Linked DNA regions of Homo sapiens: region 2 is linked to region 1. The links are contacts of gene promoters, found by promoter capture Hi-C in human tissues and cell types (Jung and others, 2019). All regions are on one chromosome and are shown on one strand. Each heading gives the region's core, a stretch centred on a gene start or on the middle of the fragment in contact. The rest is flanking DNA. Distances are from core to core; before and after follow the strand shown. Region 1 holds the start of NDRG1 (N-myc downstream regulated 1). Region 2 has its middle 17 kb from the start of ZFAT.

Region 1 (5,859 bases), core at 1,322-3,821:
GCAGCCCCATTCAGTCAAAGGCCAACTCAGGGGGCTGCAGCCTCTAAGCCCCTGCCCTTCAGGCTGGCTTTGCTAATCTCTCAAGAACACCTGATTTACACTTAAAAAAAATCATTCCGCTCTGCCCCTTTGGCCTCAAAAGTTTCCTCACCAGAAATTCAATGAAGATGCAATTTCCTTTCGCCCCTCCATAGCAGGCAGGCAAAATCCTGCCAGGAACCCTTTCCACTGCCTTCAGTCCCACCCAGGAGCCTCTCACAAAGCTGAGCTCCAGCTCAGTTCGGCCTGGGCACATCCCTCCCCATCCCTGTGCCTCATTTTCCATCTGTAAAATGGAAAGAAGTTGGACTAGGTAGGTCCTGTGTGAGTTTTTTATTCCATTCCAAATGATCAAACTTTGTTGCTCCAAAAGAACTTCCTCACAAGAGACCCAAACAGACACTCCAGGATCCCTCAAAAGCAAAAGCCAACACCTCCACCCATGCACAGTCTATTACCTCGCCCGAAACTCAACCTGCTGGTTCACAGGAGAATGGGGCAGAAGACCCAGAGCCATCCACTTCATCCCATGTGCATATTTCAACTCCTCCCACCTGCCAGGCGCTGGGCCAGGGGCCAGGTTACAGGGCAGGGCAGGCAAATCCTCCTCCTTGCCCAGATGCAGTGGGAGACACGGTCCCACAAAGCTAAGAAGTCACAGGTCAGGGGAACACCCAGTTTTCCATCCACACCAAAACCCTCTCTCTCCCTTACACCTTCCTTCATCCCCGACACTGTGCCACCCCAGCCTGGGGCTGGCTCTGCCGCCACACACACCACACAGAACCGGTCTGCGTCTCCAGCCGTGTGTCTTCCCCACCAGAAGGCAGCCCTTCCAAGAAAGGCGCTGGGGTTTGCCCCCTCTGTACCTTGCTTATTTCAATCACATTTGTGAAACTCAATAAGAACGCCAGAATTTCTCAACAGGAAGAGTCTAGACTGAAAAATTCGCCTTGAAACTACATTTCTGCAGCAAGAACAGGGGGTTTGTATTTAGATATGTTCTTTTGAGGCAGCTTAGGAGAAGGTCCCGTGCAGCTGATGGGTATTATAAGGATGTCTACCGCCCTCCTGCCTGGCCACTGGCTGACTTCTGAATATTAGATATTTCCCAGTAGCTTAAAGAAACCAAACAAACTGAAGTGCCCCCAGCGTCCGTGAGGAAGGGGTGTTCTTGGATGGGCATAAGATAACCAAGGGCCCTGCCTCCCCCACCCACTGCCAGGCATCTCCCACTTCCAAGCCACAGAGGCGTGCTGTTCAGGACCCCCAGGGACAGCAGGGACAACAGGCGGGGGATATGGGGGAGGGGTGGGTAAGGAACCGACCCACTAAATCCCAGCTCCAGCTACTAATTTGACAGAGGCGTGACAGCGTGTTTCCCCCAGAACCAGCCGCATTCCCCAAGCCCAGCCCGAAATCTCCTCCCGAGGCTGAATCAGAGACCGCGGCGGATCCCCCAGGAACGTCGAAGTAATTCCAGCTGTTTTCCCCCGTGGAGGGCAGGAGCGGCCAGCACCAGAGGCAGGGGAGGGGAGGAAAGCGGGGGAGGGTGGGCGGAGGCGAAAATGACGCCACTCCTAGCTCCAGCCAGCTCAAGGGGCCGCCAAATGTCCGCGAGACCCCTCTCGCCCAGGTCACTTCTCCCACGCCGCCGATGCGCCAATCCCGGGTTCCTCCGGGGGCGCACCCTGCCCAGTGGCGCTCGCAGACACTTGCTCCGGCTCGCGTGTTGCACTGTGACACACCCTGGACCCTCCCCCCACACACACGCTTACACTCACACATGCACACCGCCCTGTGTGTGCTACGGGACTGAAGCGCCACCAGCCTCTCGGATCCACACCCGTTCCCGACCCAGTCTGCAAGCCAGACACACCCACGCCCCCCTCTCCAGCCTCCTTGCCAGCGCCACTCACCTCTACCAACCCCTCATCTACACACTCGCGCGCAATCTCTCCGTTCCCAGACACAGACACACACACACACACACACACACACACACACACACACTCACCTAGTCCCTTCTGCACCCACGTCCAGCGCGCACCCCTGCCAGCGGCGCCAGCTGGGATTCGGAGACGACGCCAGGAAACGCTATCCTGGTATTTTTTCGGACCGTCTCATCGCCCCCTTCCCGACCTCCAGAACCCCAATCCCCAGCTAGGGGGGAGATGAATGGGACCCTGTCTTTTTTTCCTCCCTTTCCGTAATTGAACCCCCCACTTCAGCGGTGTCTGCACCCAAAGCCCCCTCGCGCCCGCGCCCCGGGGTGACCGCGCACTTGCAGCTCCGGGGCGCTTACTCCTGGAGTACGCGGGGCTACAAAGGGCGGTCCTGGCGCTCCAGCGGCACCGCACGGGCGGCCCCTTTCTGCTCCGCGTCGCGCCTGGGAGAAGAGGGCGCGGGCTTACCTAACGCGAGGGAGAAAGGAAAGGACGGTGCCGAGGCTGGCGGCCCAGCGCCCCGCGGAAGCCGAGGGCGGATGGTGAACTGACGAGCTTCAGCACCAGCTGGGAGCCAGGCGAGGTTTGTTTACGTCCGGGCGGAGGGCGACTTTATAGGCGCCGCGGCCCCGCCCCCGCGCCTCGCCCCTCCCAGACCCTCGCAGTCCCAGCACGCAGCCGGGACACACCCCTTCCCCGCTCCCTGCTCCCTCCTCCCGGGCGCGCCGGGCTGGGCTGGGCTCCGGCAGCGCGCGGCGGGCGCCCACTGGAGCCGCCGCCTGTTGCGCAAGCAGTCGTAGGGGCGCGGCCGGGAGGGGCATCGGGGCCCGGGTTGTGGGTCGGCTCTGCAGTCCCCTCCGAGTCCAGGGCCTCGGCCTGTGCAGCGGGCGCGTGTGCCCTGCCCGGAGGAGGCGTTTGTGTGCTTGTGCGTGTTCATGTGCGCGCTCGTGCGTGTGCATGTGGACTTCCTTGTGTCTCCGTATGGGCGGAGGCCCCCCATCTCTGCCTCAGAGTTTCTTCTAAGAGTCTCGTTGCGCCACGCCCTGAGCGACTCCCTTCACTTCCTGTAGGTCTCACCAGCTCGGCTCTCCAGCCGGATTCGGCTGCCTGCCCAGCAGCCGCCTTCGCTTTCGCCCGACAGGCTCCCTCCGATTCTCAGCCTTCCGTGTCGCCAAAGCTCTCGCTGAAATCCTCGCTCCCGTTTAATCTCGTCCATCTTGCCCACCGCCGCCCAGCGCTTACCCTTCCCCTCATCTTCCCAGTTCTAAGCACACTCACTGGACCTTGCCCACTGGGCTCTTCTCTCCTGCCCCACAAGCCCAGATGAGAGGATTCTCACCCCTTCCTATTCTGATTTCCTGAACTTTCATGACTCACCCTTTCCAACCTTAGCACCGTCCTGCTCTGCTGCTCTGTTTGTGCGTAACTATTGGCCTGCATGTTCCCATCTGGCCAAAGAAACCAGCAATTCTCAACCCCTACTGCATATGAGAAGTCCCAGAGGAGCCGCCAAATTAAAAAATAAATAAATAGATAGATAATAAAAAGAGAGAGATGGACTCCAGAACAGTTTAATCAGAATCTCAGGGGGTGCAAACCAACTGGGCATTGGGGTTTTTACAAAGCTACCCAGGTGGCTCCTGACGTGCAGCCAGGTTGAGAAGCACTGCATGGAGGAACATGATTTTATGAATAAAGGAAGTCTGACTCACAGCTGGCACCGTCATTGTCCTCAGGCCACCTGCCCAGCGTTGAATTTGCCACTGAGCCCAGGACCAGACCCAGGGCAAGCTCAGGTGACCCTCCCTGCGCCTCCACAGACACACACGCGCGCACGCACAACACTTCCTGCTGAATTGTAAACCTCTTTTCTGTGCCAACCCATGCTGTCCCCAAGGCAGGGGCCATGGCTTTCCCCTCTGATTATTAGGGCCAGTTTTGGAGAAGGGTTTTCTGGAACAAAAGAAATATGGAGAGGGGCAAACAGCACCTCTAGGACCCAGGACATCTGTGTTTCAGGCCTGTCTTTGACACTATCGATCACAAATCAACAAATCTGGGCTTCAGAATTCTCACTGGCAAAGGGAGAGGATTAGATTCAATGATCTTTCAGAACCTATCTAGTGCTAAAGCTCTGTTATTCTATTACAAATGACCAGTGTGAAGAACAGAGTTCCAGTGTCATGGGTTTTGCTGCTAGAAGAGTTTGGCTAAACTACAAAGTTTGGCTATTAGCTATGAAGTTTGGCTAAACTACAAAGTTTGGCTACATTCAAGAATGCCTTGAATGTAGGAGCACATTCCCCCACCCTAGAAAATTTAACATCTAGAATTAATAAGTGAATGAATGACCACTGGGCAGTCTTCCATTCTTTATGGATTTGAACTAGTTCAACTGCAGCATTCCCAGTGAGGGAAAATTTTTCTTATTTCAAATAAAATGTTGTGTCCAGGTAGAGTGGCTTACACCTGTAATCCCAGCACTTTGGGAGGCCAATGCAGAAGCCTCTCTTGAGTCCAGGAGTTTGAGACCAGCCTTCACAACATAGTGATGTCCCATCTCTACAAAAAAGATGAAAGCTAGCCAGGCCTGGTGGCAAGTACCTGTAGTCCCAGCTACTTCAGAGGCAGAGGTGGGAGGATTGCTTGAGCCCAGGAGTTCCAGAAAAGTCTGAGCAACATAATGAGACATCATCTCTACAAGAAAATAAAAAATCAGGTGGGCTTAGTGGCATGCAGCTGTAGTTCCAGCTACTTGGGAGGCTAAGGCAGGAGCCTTGCCTCCCTAGGCCCTGAAACTTATTTATTCTGTCATTCCACAAATGACAGAATTGAGCTGCTCTTATGAGCTGGGTCCTGTACTCCGCCACTGGGAAAGGACTGAAAAGGCAAAAACATTTTCTACAGGTGCATAGCATGGTACAGCCCCAAGACGCAGTTTCTCCATCCATACAGCGTGGTTGAGATGAACTCATTCATTCCCTAACTATATTAAGGACCTACTATGCCCAGGCACCATTCTAGACCCTGGGGACATGATCATGAACAACAGCAACAACAAAAGTGCATCTCTGGGAGCCATCCTGCTGTCTAAAGACCCTCCCAGATCAAGCAGCCTGTGTGCCTGTTATCCTTTAGCCAGCTTACACATACCCATTTTCCCATAGGCTCCCCATTGCGGCGATTTATTGAGTGAGCACCTTTGGTTTTTTACCTGCTAAAGATACAAGAGTGTCAAGTTCAAAAGTGCGGAGTGTCAAGATAAGGAATGTCAAGTTCAAAGGCGCAGGGAAGGCGGCCCACTTCTTCAGTAACAAATGGAACTAGTGCATGGAATTAGAAGGGCATTTTGCCAGGGGAGGCCCTTGCCTGTCTCTTTGAGGAGGTCCTCAGGACAGAATGCGAAGAGCAGCCCAGATTTGCAGCTTGAAACCCCGAGGAGGTTGCCTGGCAGGAGGCTGGGCTTGTGTGGGAAGCCTAACCTTCTGGAAGACCATTAGCATTGAATAGGTCAGAAGACAGAGGAAGGAGAGTGGAGTGAAGAGAAAAGAGCAGAGAAGGGAGGCAAGAATTTGAGCAATGGAACACAATTTTCCAAGTGATGGCATTCTAAAATCAGAGTCCACATCACCTTGGAGAAGGCCTGAGGAAGACACCATTTGGATTCCACACTCCCCTCCCTCAGCCCAACACAGCCAATTTTCCTTCCCTGTTGAAAAGGATGTTTTCTTCCGCTGAGCACCAGATGAAGTAGTTTTCTTAGCTAAGTGTCACGCTGCAGGAGAAAGACTGTCTTTAGTACAGGCCTGGATGCACATAAAGCATAGAGGACGCCCACCCTATACAGAGGCCCCTCACTGGGACCTGGGAGCTG
Region 2 (5,859 bases), core at 1,519-4,018, 1.4 Mb after region 1:
CAGGCTGGTGGACACCTGAGAGAAAAGTGATCTAGATGGAGGAAGTGGCTGGTGCAAAGGTCCTGAGGTCAGGACACTGCTGTGTTTGAGGAGAAGAACGGCTGTGGGGCAAGTTCATTCGTAGGCAGAGGAAAGGGTCCTGTCACTGCGCTGTCTCCTCTATCTGCCTTTCTCTCTCTCTGATCATTGAAGACCCTGTCTCTCCTCCTCTCATGGAACTGCCCTTTTGGGATTTCTACAAACTCTGAAGTATAAAACCAAATTTTAAAACATACTGCAAATTATAATGCTTTTTAAAGTACCACCTATTTTACACGTCAAGCCAGTTTTGTGACTTCAAAATGAATAGGGCTTTTTTTTGAGAAGTCACGAGATGAGAAACTAAGGCTATCCATCTATGTTAGGGGCGGGGAATCTTTTTCTGTAAAGGGCCAGATAGTAAATATTTTCAGTTTTGCAGGTCGCAGGGTGTCTACTGAAGCTACTCCACTCTGCCCCATGAAAGCAGCCAAAGGGAATGTAAATAAAACCCTGTGGCTGTGTGCCAATAAAAGTTTATTTACAGAACCAAGTAGGAAGTGAGATTTGCCCCCTAGGTTATAGTTTGCCAATCCCTAATCTACTTATCATAATGATAAATATCATTATCAAAAATACATTTCTTGTTCTTTTAGCATTAGCTATGGGCCAAGCAAACAGGCCACTTTTGGGTGCTCCTGTCTCCTGGTACTGAGCAGACATGCTGTACCAGGTACAATGTGAGTAATGAGCAGAGGAGTACCTGAAATCTATAATACCTCACCTGGATATACTACCAGTGGTGCAATTCTATTTTTAAAAACTTGAGATTCCAATATTAAATTTTTTAACTTTATGGAATATTTTTCCTAAGGCCAAGCTTAAGCCAGTTGACTCTTCACAACTGACTGGTCTCGGTGGCTATTGGCAGCCTTCCATGATCACAGGGAGGAAGGTGAGGGCCTGAAAGACCCCGCTGGCAATCTCTGCTAGGTAGCATGTACAGGGAAGGCAGACTTCAAATGGAATTGTGCAAAATATTTCTACGCAAGCAGATATAGAAACAGGCATGCAAGCTTTTCCTAAAAGTCTGTGAGGCCCTGCTTTGTGCCCTTCAGACTATCTAGTAAATCATGAAAGGTTCATGTGAAGCAGATACACCAATAATTCAGCAGTAGGGTTTAGCTAATCTTCTTAGCAATCTTAGAGGGACTGGCTGGAAAATCCCCAGCTGCAAGTCCAGGGCACCACTCTGGAGGGTGTGAGCATGCTGGGCTCAGCGGGCTCCTGCATCCATCCACACCAGGACAGGTGTGCCTGCAAAGATGCACATCCAACCCCAGATCCTAAACCATGTTTACTACTGGTGAAAAATTAGCCAAGGATCTAATCAAAAGTTTTGATAACTTATAGCAGCACTCCTGAAGTTTGCATTTCTGAGCAAGGCTTCTAAATGTTAAAATTGCAGAGTCTATATTAAAATCAGTTTGCACACACGTATATAAGAATGTTTATGCTAAAACATTTTAAAGTAAATTATGCATTACATAACATATCTCTCTCCTCTTATAGTAAATTTTTGATGCTTTGGAGAGTTCATTCCTTTTTTTCCAGTTACTCATTCTGGATTTTTTTTAATGGAAAGTGAAAGAAAATATATGACTTTTTATTTTCAATTTTGAAATTGTGGCAATATACTATACACTAATTGTCACATTCAAAAGTTTAAAATAATCCTTAAATATTCTTAGGAGAATTATACTATCAGGAAAGAATGCATATCTTTTCCAACTAATAGCTTCATCTCTAACTAATACCTTTGTAAAGAACGCTGGCCTGTAATTTATAGACATGACCCCTGAATGGCAGAGTCACCATGCCCGACCAGGATGATTTTTTACATCACTCTTAACACTACAATTTACTTTAGTAAACTCTGTGACCCTGGGACCCTCATTCCCAGGCTCCTCTGTAAAATTGGGAGATGGCTGGATTTGGGCTGCCCCTGGGATTTCATCCACCTCGCCATTCTTTTTTTGTTTTGTTTTGTTTTTGAGACGGAGTCTCGCTCTATCACCCAGGCTGGAGTGCAGTGGCGTGATCTCAGCTCACTGCAAGCTCTGCCTCCCAGGTTCATGCCATTCTCCTGCCTCAGCCTCCCAAGTAGCTGGGACTACAGGCGCCTGCCACCACGCCCAGCTAATTTTTTTTGTATTTTTAGTAGAGATGGGGTTTCACCGTGTTAGCCAGGATGGTCTCGATCTCCTGACCTTGTGATCCACCCACCTCGGCCTCACCTCACCATTCTACCACCAGAGTTGGCCAAGCTGTCAGGCCCCGCTTCTGACTGCCACTGAGGACTTTCTTCCCAAATGCAGCTCCCTGTTACTACACCTGAATAGCATCGTCCTTATAAGCAATGCCTCTGAAGCTTGACTGCTTGAGTTTGTAATCCTGATGGGCTGGTTACCCTCACAAGCTTGGGTCCTGGGCATATTCTAAAACTTTGTATGTCTTGGTTTCCCCGTTTGTAAAACAAAACTTAAGAGTATCCACTCCATGGGCTTGTCCTGACGCTTACATGAATTAATACACAATAACTGGATTTTTCTTTTGCAATATTCAAAGCTGTGCTCCTATTAGATTCAGTGGAATCTGGCTTCTTGCAAACCTGACCAATATTTTCATTTTCTCCTCCCTGTCTTTGCATTTTGACAGTGTTTGGGTCAGTTAGATTAGGCTGTTGTCTGCCTGCCATCTGGATTTGGTGACCTGGCCTTTGGTTGTTACGCGCTGCTCCCACTTGTGTCAGGGAGAAAGCAGAAGAGAAGTCTGGCCCGGGAATTTCTTGCTACAAAGGAAGTTCTGGGAATACTGAGGGTGAAGCCTGCACTCTCCTCATCTCCAGAGGGAGCAATGCCCCGGGCCCAATGCCCCCAGTGACAAGGCAAAGGCCCAACGTACTCCTCCCTTGCCTAGCTAGCCAGCTACCCTGCAGCTTGCAGTTATCTGCATCAACCTCGACATCTCCCATGACTCTCGCCTTTTAAAGGTGCACGTGGCACAGTTACAGCCTCCCTTGGATGCTACAGAGTTGCCCAGGCACACAGTCCACTTCCCCACTCCCCCTTCCTGCCAGAGATGAATTTGTCACAAGAGAGACCTTTATCAGTCCCATCATCCTGGATTCCTAGGGCAGCACGTGGAACATCCTCCGTGTTCAGGAACAATTTGTTAGAGGAGAAGATGAATAAATAAACGTCTCCATTCTCTACTGTCAGCAGGTGGCCAGTAGACATTAACAGTAGCATTTTGGTGTGATCCCCTGTTTAAAGATGTGTGCGGACATCTCTTCAAGGGTCCCCATGACAACATTTCACACAAATTATTGGAGTTCAAATGACTAAAGATCCTTTCATTGAACTCCCTCAGTTTACAGATGGGGGACCTGAAGCCCAGAGAAACTAAACATATTCATCAAGCAGCCAGGATGACGAAGGCATGCAAATTCATGTCTTTTGAGCAACTTTAAAGAAGCTAGAAATATTCTGGTTTCTTTTCCTGGGGAAGATAGCATTCCGTGGGAATATGAGCACTGATTTTTTGAACATCTGAAGGGCTACTATATGAAGAAAAGCTCCTAAGAGATCAGAAGTATCCAAAGATGAAACGGTTGCCCCTTGAGGCCATGAATGCTCTATTGCCGGAGGTGTCCAAGCACAAACAGAAATAGCTTAGAGAGAGGAGAAGCATCAAAGTCGGGGGCAGAAAAAATGTCTGAAATGATAAACACAGACAATAGCAAGTGTCAGAAGGATATGGAGCAAGGGGAACCCTCAGACACTGCATGTGGGAGAGGTAATGGTGCAACCACTTTGGAAAACTAGCAGTTTTTAATAAGGTTAAACTTACATCTTCCCTGTGTTCCAACAATTCCACTCCTAGGAATGGACTCAACAGAAACACATATGTATTTTTCGCCAAACACATATATGAGAACTTCATAGCAGGTTACTCATAATAGCCCCAAGTGAGAAACTACCCAATCTACTGCTCATTGACAGTAAAATGTATAAATAAATGTTAGTATATTCACACAATGGAATATTATACAGAAATCAGGAGACTTTTTCTGTAAAGGGCCAGATAGTATTTTCAGCTTTGCAGGCCATATGGCCTACATCTCAACCACTCAGTTCTGTCATTGTAGTGCAAAAGCAGCCATAGACATAGACATATACAGAAATAAATGGGCATGGCTGTGTTTCAAAAAAACCTTAATTTACAAAAGCAGATGGAATACACAGTGTGCTCAGTTTTTGAAAATTCATTAAGGTGCACAGCTATGGTATGTGTACTTTCTGAATGTATATAAAAAGGTTTTCAATTTTTTAAAAAGGGTTTTCAATAACAAGTTTAAAAAGAAATAGGGGCAGGGCAGTTATTGGCCTGTGTGTCTATGATTCAGCGGCTAGTCCCAGATAAAACAGTTAGATAATAGCAAAACTGGAACTGAAATTCAGGCCTCTGGCTCCCAGAAAGGAAAGGGAATTCATACCTATGAGTGTTTCCAGTGTGCAATGCACTTGTCACAGTCATTCCTCATAATAACTCTCAGAGAAGGCATTATTATGCTTATTTTTGTAGATGAGAAAACAGGGGCCCAGAGTGGGTACAAACTTAGCCAGGATCATACATCTTATCTGGAGCAGCAATGCCACCTGAGCCCAGCTCTGTCTGATCCTGACCCCAGGCTCTTAGGTTTCCTCCACAGGCTTTAAATGCAAACATGGCATTTCCTACATGAGCATTGCATGTGTATAAAAATAAACTGTGAGCCCCACACTATGAAATATTATCCGGTTATCACTGGCTTCTGCTGCTGACAGCCAGGGCTGCTAAATCTTATGAGGCTGTGCCCGCTGCTTCTGGGTAAGCCCTGACCATGGGCACAGCTGGGACATAGGCCCGCTCTGCAGGTTTTTTACTGTGGCTTTCCTCACTGAAGCAAGCATAGTGGGATGAGGGGAGAGGGAGAAGCAAGGGCAGACAAGATGCTGGATGATGCAGGTTCTGCAGCCAGGGGAGACCAGAAGGCAGGCAGACTGATGAGGAAGGGGCTTGTCACAAGGGGCCAGTCCAAAAGGGAAACTAAGACCATTCTCCTATCAGGAGCCACTTGCCCCTCCTGTCCGACTCTACTTCTGAGATTCTCTCCCTCACCCTCAACAACCCCTGCTCCCAGTACCAGCTGTAGAAAGAAAGAGAAAGGTACCTACTCATCCAACTCAGAAAATGGGGTAGGGTGAAGTTCTACTTTTGAATGTCTTGTGACAATTTCCATTAGTTCTCAATAGTTAAAAATTAGGAGCGTTTCAGAAAGGAATGCATATACCCAGTGAAAGATGCCAGTCTGAAAAGGCTACATACTTTACGTTTCCAGCAACATCACATTCCGGGTAAAGCACAACTATAGAGACAGTAAAAAGATCAGGGGCTGCCAGGGGCTGGTGTGAGGAGTGGAGAGGAATGGGCACACAGAGCACAGGCTTGTTAGGGCAGTGAGACTATTCCGTAGGATCCTATAATGGTGGGTACATGTCAGTATACCCCGTCACAATCTACAGGAGATTCCTCACAAAGAGTGAACCCAAATGTGAACTATGGGCTTTAGTCAGTAGTAATGTATCAATATTGGTTCATCAATTGTAACAAATGTGCCACACTAATATAAGGTGTTCATTAGAGGGGAAACTGAGGCCAAGAAGAGGGCATACATGGAAATTCTCTATACTTTACACTCAATTTTTCTGTAATCCTAAAACTGCTCCAAAAAATCAT

Evidence for each region. Contacts are between HindIII fragments. The study calls those that stand out against the background at their distance.
Region 2: a contact is called between a fragment that was not itself captured here and the fragment with the promoter of NDRG1 in region 1, in 1 of the 25 tissues and cell types used here (dorsolateral prefrontal cortex).

The regions. Positions count from the first base shown.
Region 1 is chr8:133,294,681-133,300,539 of GRCh38, forward strand. It overlaps NDRG1 (N-myc downstream regulated 1), which reads right to left and starts at 2,572. Exons shown (of 16, transcript NM_006096.4): 1 at 2,454-2,572. RefSeq lists an enhancer at 1-256 and a silencer at 2,453-2,902. The HindIII fragment of the contact is 13,971 bases long and covers 1-5,859 here.
Region 2 is chr8:134,727,278-134,733,136 of GRCh38, forward strand. It overlaps a transcript of ZFAT not described here. Among named protein-coding and RNA genes, the nearest start is that of ZFAT, 17 kb to the left of the region's middle. The HindIII fragment of the contact is 3,544 bases long and covers 997-4,540 here.